Regions from separate parts of the Homo sapiens genome. Here region 1 is linked to region 2. The links are contacts of gene promoters, found by promoter capture Hi-C in blood cells and fetal thymus (Javierre and others, 2016). All regions are on one chromosome and are shown on one strand. The core of a region is centred on a gene start or on the middle of the fragment in contact, and the rest is flanking DNA. Distances in the headings are between cores, read along the strand shown. Region 1 overlaps MGAT5 (alpha-1,6-mannosylglycoprotein 6-beta-N-acetylglucosaminyltransferase). Region 2 holds the start of ZRANB3 (zinc finger RANBP2-type containing 3).

Region 1 (4,019 bases), core at 232-2,731, 1.3 Mb after region 2:
AGACCAGCCTGACCAACATGGAGAAACCCCGTCTCTACTAAAAATACAAAATTAACTGGGCATGGTGGCACATGCCTGTAATCCCAGCTACTAAGGAGGCTGAGGCAGGAGAATCGCTTGAACCTGGGAGGCGGAGATTGCGGCGAGCCGAGATCGTGCCATTGCACTTCAGCCTGGGCAACAAGAGTGAAACTCCATCTCAAAAAAAAAAAAAAAAAAAAAACCTAATGGCATAAGGAAATGCAGTATCTTAATTTTTAAAAAAGCATATATTCATGTACATATATACACATATACACACATGTACGTATCACTTTTTTTTTTTAAAGAACTAAAGGGAAATCAATTTTATCTGGTAAGATCTGCATTTAGAGGTAAAGAGTGTATTTATTCTTTATTCTTCTCCATACTTCCTCATATGCTTTAATTTTACATAAAAATTCACATTATTTTCAAAGTCACAAAGGCATTAAGTGTTATTTTAAATATATATACATAGTACAATGAATTGTACTCTTAAGAATCAAAGATAGTGCCACCAGTACCCTAAAGTCATGTAAGGCAATACCCACCAGAAACATCTTAGTGACCCTTACTGCCTTATCTCATTTGAATTTTAAAGCCACATGTTAGATAATTTGCCTGCTCCTGAACTGACAAAAAGGTGGCTTCCACCCTGCAGTTGTCCCAGTCAGCAGATTCTGGACAGAAAAGGGCATAAAACAATTATCACCAAAGTCAAAGAGCAGCTCAGATGCTCAGCAACACTGACTAGCCTTCTCTTCTGGGTTAGAACTACAGATTTAAGCTTTCACCAGAACTTGTGCCCAGAAGCGAATGTTTTTCCTAAGGTGTTGCAGAGGGTGTCATTACTATTGAGGAAGTTTCCATGCATCGAAATCTGGTAAAAGATCCTTTCTAGGCCTGTTGATGATATTAAGTGCTTTATGGAACCTGAATAGAGTTCTTAAGCTATTCTTTGAATTTTCCTAACATGTAGCCAGCTGCAGGGAATAGGAACCAAGAATTTTAGCCTTTTTTATAGAAAAGATAAGGAATCAGAGAAGTGCTGAGAGGTCAAGCCTATTGTTATCCATTGTCCCCCACCTGATGCCAGGGCCCGCACCTTCTTGGAAAGGGTGGCCTCGCACACTACTGCTTCCTGCTTGCTGTACCATGCCAGAAACACCACCACCACCAATGCCCTGGTTAGATCCAAAGGTGAACTTGGCCATACCCAGCTTATCTTACAGCCCACAGAAGAAAACTGTATCTTTTGAACAGGGCAATGACAACCACATCTCCTAGTTTAGTAGGGTGGTGGCAAGCCTGACCTCTTCTGAAACAGAGCATATTTCCTCTCATGTCTGGTCAGGCTCTACCCCTGTAAATGCTAAGAATAGCTACATAAACAGGTTGCTGAAGCCCTGTGTTCAAACAAATGAACAACGTCAGATCTACATGAACAGTTATGCCTGGGTGGTAACAGATGCAGGTACATTCAAGCCAGAGTTAGTGATTACTAATAGGAATGAATGCATTTTAATTAAGCGCTGGTTGGGCACAGTGGCTCACACCTGTAATCCCAGCACTTTGGAAGGCTGAGGTGGGAGGATCGCTTGAGGCCAGGAGTTTGAGACCAGCCTGGGCAATACAGTGAGATTCCATCTTTAGAAAAAAAACTTTTGTTTTAAATTAGCCTAGTGTGGTGGCACATGCCTATAGTCCCAGCTACTCTGGAGGCTGAGATGGGAGGATCACTTGAGGCCAGGAGTTTGAGACCAGCCTGGGCAATACAGTGAGACTCCATCTTCAGAAAAAAACTTTTGTTTTAAATTAGCCTAGTGTGGTGGCACATGCCTATAGTCCCAGCTACTCTGGAGGCTGAGGTGGGCATAAGGCTTGAGTCTGGGAGGGGGAGGTTGCTAGAGCCTGATCACACTACTGTACTTCAGCCTTGGTGACAGAGCAAGACTCTATCTCCAAAACAAAACAAAACAAAATAAAACAAAAACAACACCAAAAAAAAAGAACAAGAATAATCTAAATTAATCTAAGTGCCTTAATAAACTTTGTCATTTGTAATCCTTACAACAAGCCTATGAGGTTAAATGATATTATATTGTCTGTTTTACAAAAGAGGAAGTAAGCTTTAAGATGATCGGTGACTTGTTCAAGGTCACACATCAGTAAGGAACACAATGTGTTCCATCCGCCCAACAGAAACACTAACTACCTTCCAGAATAAACAATGGTTCCCATGTTAGGATCATGCATAAGAGCTACTTGGAGCCTCTTAGATGCAGAGCCCATAGGGAATTTCTTCTCATTTCCTGCTTCACTAAAAACATTACTGTGATTTTCAAATGAGTCCCAGCTGTAACTGTACCACACAGAGCATCACAGAGTTTCACCAGGGGCTGCTGCTATTCATTCATGGCTCTTACTATGTGCCAGGCAAAAGGTACTAAGCTCTGGGGCACAGTGGGGAACAAAACAGACCAAAGTCCCTCCTCTTTCAGAACTTACATTGTAAGTGGGAGAGACACATGATCAGCTCATACAACAAATACTTGATGCTAAGTAGCTTGAGTGTTATAAAGAATGAGAGTAACAGTGGGTTTGGGCCCTCCTGTGAAGGAGGGAAGGCTAACTTCTCTGAAACAGAATGGAATGCGCATGGCTGTGTTCTAACCAACTTTATTTACAAACAAAGAAGGAAGAGAGGAAGGGGTGGGGGAGAGCAAATGCAGACGCTCAAAGACAGGCGAATGCTCAGCCACCACCCAACAGTCTTGTCCTAGAAGAGAGCCACCATGCCTTAGTAGACTTGAGGGGGTGCGGAGCTTTTTAGGGTGTCCACAGCAGCAAGAGGTCTGCTCAAGCACTTCTGACAGCAAAAGAGCACCAGGACACAGCTGGGAAGAAGCAGAGGGTCATAGAGAGCTATGACCATCAGGTAAGACAAGGGACATTCTAAGCCTCATCGTTTGAACATGGCAATGACAATCACATTGAGATTGAGACTCCAACCTCACACATGTGCGTGCAATCCCTCCTCAATCCAGACTTGAAGTAGTGGTGCTGCATGAAAGAAAGGGTCTTAATGACTGAGGGGTAGAAGAATGAGCCCCTTATTCTGAGTTTACTCCTCCTGTCTAAAACATTTCTGAGGTCTTCCTCAGACCTTTTGACTGGCCTGGGCGTGCTTGTGAACTTGGCCTGGCTTTGATGAGGATACTGGGCAGGCTGGACTCTACCACAGGATGGCTGGAAAAGTCCCAAGCCACAGAGAGGCCCATTTTTAGGTTCCAAGCTTTTTAAAGCAGAAAGCCCTTTCTTTAATCACACCAGCCACGTCACCATACAGTAACTAAAAGCCTTCTCAGACACACTGAACAGCCCAGCTATTTTTTTCCCTACCATTTTCACTTCAAGAACAGTGTATTTCCCTCAAGGGCAGGGGATTTCTACTTTGGCAACAGTGGTTTTCCACATTATCCCACAACAGTCCCAGCCCTCAAAAAAAAAAAAAAAAGAAAAAGAAAAAAGAAACCATTCCTATTCCTTGACCATATTTCCCTATTTGTAGGAAGAGAGACACAAAAAAAAAGTGGAAAAACAAAACAAACTAAAAAACCCTTTACATGCTTGCATCTTTAATGAAATCCAACCTGTTTTTGTTCCTTTTTCACAAGAGAGGTGGAAGGAAACACTTGCAAAAGCTCTCATTCGAATCTCAGAACGTTATCTGGATCTGCAACACAGGGCAGCTGCTAACCTTTCAGAGCAATCTTCGGCAGCCCTAAATGGTATTAACATCTTAGACATAGCATCCCAAGCCAATGAGGGCCAATCGGAAGTCCAAAGCAGTTACCTCTCCACTGCCCCCAACCAGCAACCAAAAGCCCTATGCTGGTTCTCCAACCGGCGTGTGTGCCTCCTTAAGGAAAAAACTTCCTTCCTCCCATAGAGAAAGCAGTGAACTATAGGGTGAGGTCAACATCTGGTTTCTGCAT
Region 2 (4,369 bases), core at 300-2,799:
AGACGTGTCCAATTATTCCTGTCAGACTGGTATCCTATTACTTAGAAGATCTTGTTTCACATATTATAAATGGGTAGACTTTCAGTTTGACTTTAATCATCTTTTCATTTAAAAGTTTTTGTCATCAATGATATTTAAGCTAAAAAAGGTTTCTTACAGTTACAATTAGGTAAACTATAACCATGAAGATATATATATATATATTTAGAAAATTTTATTAGAAAAACCATTTGCTGTTCACTAATCCTAATTTGGAAAGCACCTCTTCTTCACCTTTTACTTAACTATCCCAGGACAATTACACACGGAGCATGATAGTCCCAATAATTTAAGTTTCTTTATAAAAACAAGCTCAACAGAGTCACCCTTTGCACCTAGTCACAGCAACAAAAGAAAACAAAACACCAAAAAACTTCAAAGCCCACAAAGATTTGTTGGCAGCCTAAGGCTCAGGAATCAAAACGTGTGTAAATCTGATCCCGGGGGACCGTGGCACTGACAGTCATTCAACTTTCTTTTTAATATTCCCATTGTGCTTTTTCTGGTACCACAGGGAAAATGTACCTACATTTTACCAACCGGTCGAAGCTGAAAATTCTCTTGGTGCAAGGCCAGGGGATGCGGCCGTGGGGCGGCCGGGGGAGCCCGGGGCACCGGCGCCAGCCACACGAGAGAGCAGTACCACGCTCTTGGCAGGCCTGCTGTGGCTGGCTCCCGAGTCCCTGGGGCTGCAAGAGCAGCCGCGGAGGCAGCAGCAGCAGCCATGGCAGGGACTCGGAAACCTTTCCCCTGCCTCCTCCGCTAGGCCTCGAGGGGTTTGCTTTTCACATGGCCCCCGGGTGGGGGCGGTGGGCACAAGGCAGTGGCTGCAGCTGCAGCCGGAGCCGCAGCCGCGGGCCAGGCGAGCCTGGCTCACTCGGAACCCGACCTAACGGCGGGCTGGCAGCAGCGGGACGTCAGAAGGCCCTGGCTGAAGCGCCGACGACCCGGCGGGGAAGGCCACCTTTCCACACACCACATCTCTCCCCTGCCTGCCTCCTTCTCCGTTAGCGCTACCGGTTGGCGGGCGGGGGAGGGGAGCAAGGCGCGTTATTCCCGGGGAGCTGGACGGGGGAGGGAAGGGCATCTCTTACCCGCGTTACTGAGGAGGAGGAGGCGGTTGGAGCGCGGCGCGGCGGGGCGACGGCGGGGCTGGGTGGGTGCAAGTAAGAGTCTTACGAAAGGGAATTAACCCCATCACCAGCCCGGACACCGGCTCCAGCGGCAGCCGCGGCTGGCAGAATCCCGCCCCTTCCCACCACGCACTAGCCCCGCCTCTTCGTTCTCTTTGAGCGGCAGCCGACTATTCATAGGTTGTACGTCCCCGGAGTGACATGAGTTTTGCCCAATCAAGCTTGAAAAAAACTGTCTTCTCTCCACCCCTTTACCTCCTCCCAGGCCGCGGAGAGCCGTGCCAAATCTTCCTCCAACCTCAAGAGAAAAAGAACCAATCCGTGGTAAGTAACCGCCCTTGAAGGACGCAAAAGCCAACCAATGGTAAAACTAGGAGGACAGCCATTTTGCCCACTTGTAAAAGAGCTACCTTTTCCCACGAGTTGGAGCCTGAGGTGCGGAGTTTCGTGAGTTTTTACTGACTCGAGGTATTTAAAAGACAACCAGATCTCCTCAGTGGGTATTTATAGTGCTTTTTAGGGGTAAAGGAAAATTATCCTCCATGTGGGGCGAAGTGAGGCATGCTGCTTAAGGGGTTGGCTCCTCCCCTTAGCGCTAACGGGTTCTGAAACGAACACCTGGTTTCTCCAGCTTCAGTGGCGGAGGGCGGGGTGATTGCTCTTTTCGGCCTGGAGCGGACTACGATTCCCAACATGCTTTTCCCCTACTCATAACTTCTCCTCCGTTCACTTGTCGCGGTGCTTGGCTGGAATTGTAGTTCCTGAGAGGTACCCATGCCGCCGCTTCAGCCAATGAAAAGGGACAGAGTTTTGAATGACTTGAAATTAGGGCGGAGAACGAGTTGTCGCGAGGCTGTACAGAGCCCTTTTCGCAACCCTAACGGGAGAGAAGTGATGGAAGAAGGGTAGCCGGAAGAGTTTCCTCAAAATACCATAGGGGTTTTAAATTATTAGTACGTATTTAAACTCATCTACTTTCACGTTGTCCCGTTGAACGTCACTTCCGCTTAGGGGCGGACACGTCCCAAACCTGTGGCGGGAGTTGGAGATTCTGCGGCGAATACGCCAGGTGTGACTGGCTGGAAGTGGCGTGGCTGGCAAGTCGCTAGTTTCTTGCATGGGAGATAAAAAGTTGAACGGAATTTAATGGCATTTTAAGAAAGAGTGGGTGACATGGGATGGGGGTAATTTCCAGGGCCCTTATTACTTTCTCCACCCCGGCCTTCAATCGCGGGCGTCTCGGCCTGCTCGCTATTAGATTGCACGGCTAAATTTGTAGAAAGTACCTCTACTGCCTTTAGTCTTCGCGTGGTCAGTTTGAACTGTAAAGACAGGGCTCCGAAGTTCTGAACTACATTTACAGACACACTTTTTTTTTTTTTTTTTGAGACGGAGTCTTGCTCTGTCCCCAGGCTGGAGTGCAGTGGTGGGATCTTGGCTCACTGATTCACGCCATTCTCCTGTCTCAGCCTCCGGAGTAGCTGGGATTACAGGCGCGCGCCACTCAGCCCAGCTAATTTTTTGTATTTTTAGTAGAGACGGGGTTTCACCATGTTGGCCAGGATGGTCTCGATCTCCTGACCTCGTGATCCGCCCACCTTGGCCTCCCAAAGTGCTGGGATTACAGGCGTGAGCCACCGCGCCCGGCCACAAACACACTTCTAAAGTCAGCTTGGAAGGAAAAGAGTCACAGAAAAGGGCTTTTCTGTTTGAAGGATTGATAATCAAGAGTGGCCCCATCACCACTCTTTGAGTAACGACCATTTATTAAACGAGTGGCAGACAGGCGCGGTGGCTCAGACCTGTAATCCTAGCACTTTGGGAGGCCGAGGCGGGAGGATTACTTGAGGTCAGGAGTTCGAGACCAGCCTGGGCAACATGGTGAAATCTTGTGTCTGCTAAAAACTCACACACACACATTAGCCGGACGTGGTGGCAGAGATCTGTAGGATCTGTAGTCCCAGCTACACGGGAGGCTGAGGCAGGAGAATCGCTTCAACTTCGGAAGTGGTTACAGTGACCCGAGATCGCGCCACTGCACTCCAGCCTCGGGTGACAGAGCGAGACTCCGTCTCAAAACAAAAACAAAAACAAAAAACGTGTGACTACAGGGTGCCAACTATAATACACCGATGAATAAAGGCATCACTAAAAAGATGCCTTTATTCATCGGCCACATGGAGCCCACAGCCTAATAATCTTAGCACGTAAGGCCCTGATTTATGCCTCCTTCAGAGTTCAAGGGCGACTGTATGTATACTTTTGGACATTCCATTTAAGGTACCCAGGAAAACTGATTGAATAAAGAAGATACAAGTTACAGAAAAGGGTTTTTCCCTCCCTATGCGTGTGCCCTTTATTCTTAAACTCTTTGCTTTATTATTTTGACTGAGACTTTCTCAGATAAATTCTAATTCAGTTTACTCCATGATTTTACTGAGATTTTCTCTTATAAATCCTGTTGTATTTATGGTATGAGCGCTTAACACTGTATTGGGTACTATACCAGACTTTGGGTAGAGCAGTGCCTAAAAAGACAGGCTCCTTGTCCAAAAGTTGTGAGGAAGAGAGAGGCTAAACAAAATTGTAATGTCACTTACTGTTTCAATCTCTAAGTCAAGTCTTCTTTAGTCACATTTTGTATGTTTATTTGGTCCCTTCTTTACATTCTACCTTTGGATTAAAATAAGCACGTTTTCCTCTTTGCATTGTTTTTACTAAAGCACTAATCTGTGTCCAATACTAACGAGTGATGTTTGTATACAAAGTAAGATGGTAAATTTTATAGTGTAATCCTGCTAGATATAGGAATGTAACCATACCTTGCAGCAAGACATTTTTGTAGATCTACCAGGCAAAGTGTTGTCTCTTGCTTTTTAATGCAATTAGGATATTCAGTGATAATTTAGCAATGCAGTCTACTGTAGATGCTTAGTTTTTTTTTTTATTTGTTTGTGTCAGGAGTTCTTCCAGTGTAAATCTAGTCACTAAATAGTAATGATGGCCATCATTTTATTGAGTTTCGTCTGAGCCAGAAATGATGTTATGTGTGATAAGTACATTTTCCTTATGACAAACTGTAAGTCTTCTTGACATTTTTATATTTGAAGAAAGTGAGGCTCAATGAAGGTAAATAAGACTTGTAGAGGTCTGACCTGGTGGCTCATACCTGTAATCCCAGCACTTTAAGATGTCAA

The links. The method cuts DNA at HindIII sites, captures the fragments that hold promoters and counts their contacts. A CHiCAGO score of 5 or more calls a contact.
Region 1: a contact is called between a fragment that was not itself captured here and the fragment with the promoter of ZRANB3 in region 2, in 1 of 17 cell types (total B cells). The highest score is 9.6, in total B cells.

Annotation. Positions count from the first base shown.
Region 1 is chr2:134,260,222-134,264,240 of GRCh38, reverse strand. All of the region lies in intron 1 of MGAT5 (alpha-1,6-mannosylglycoprotein 6-beta-N-acetylglucosaminyltransferase), which reads right to left. Among named protein-coding and RNA genes, the nearest start is that of MGAT5, 8.2 kb to the right of the region's middle. RefSeq lists an enhancer at 2,481-2,530. The HindIII fragment of the contact is 1,342 bases long and covers 811-2,152 here.
Region 2 is chr2:135,528,398-135,532,766 of GRCh38, reverse strand. ZRANB3 (zinc finger RANBP2-type containing 3) reads left to right here and starts at 1,549. Exons shown (of 21, transcript NM_032143.4): 1 at 1,549-1,640. R3HDM1 (R3H domain containing 1) reads right to left here and starts at 1,283. Exons shown (of 27, transcript NM_001378107.1): 1 at 1,134-1,283. RefSeq lists a silencer at 1,117-1,306 and enhancers at 1,274-1,568, 1,537-1,806, 2,157-2,236. The HindIII fragment of the contact is 14,144 bases long and covers 1,396-4,369 here.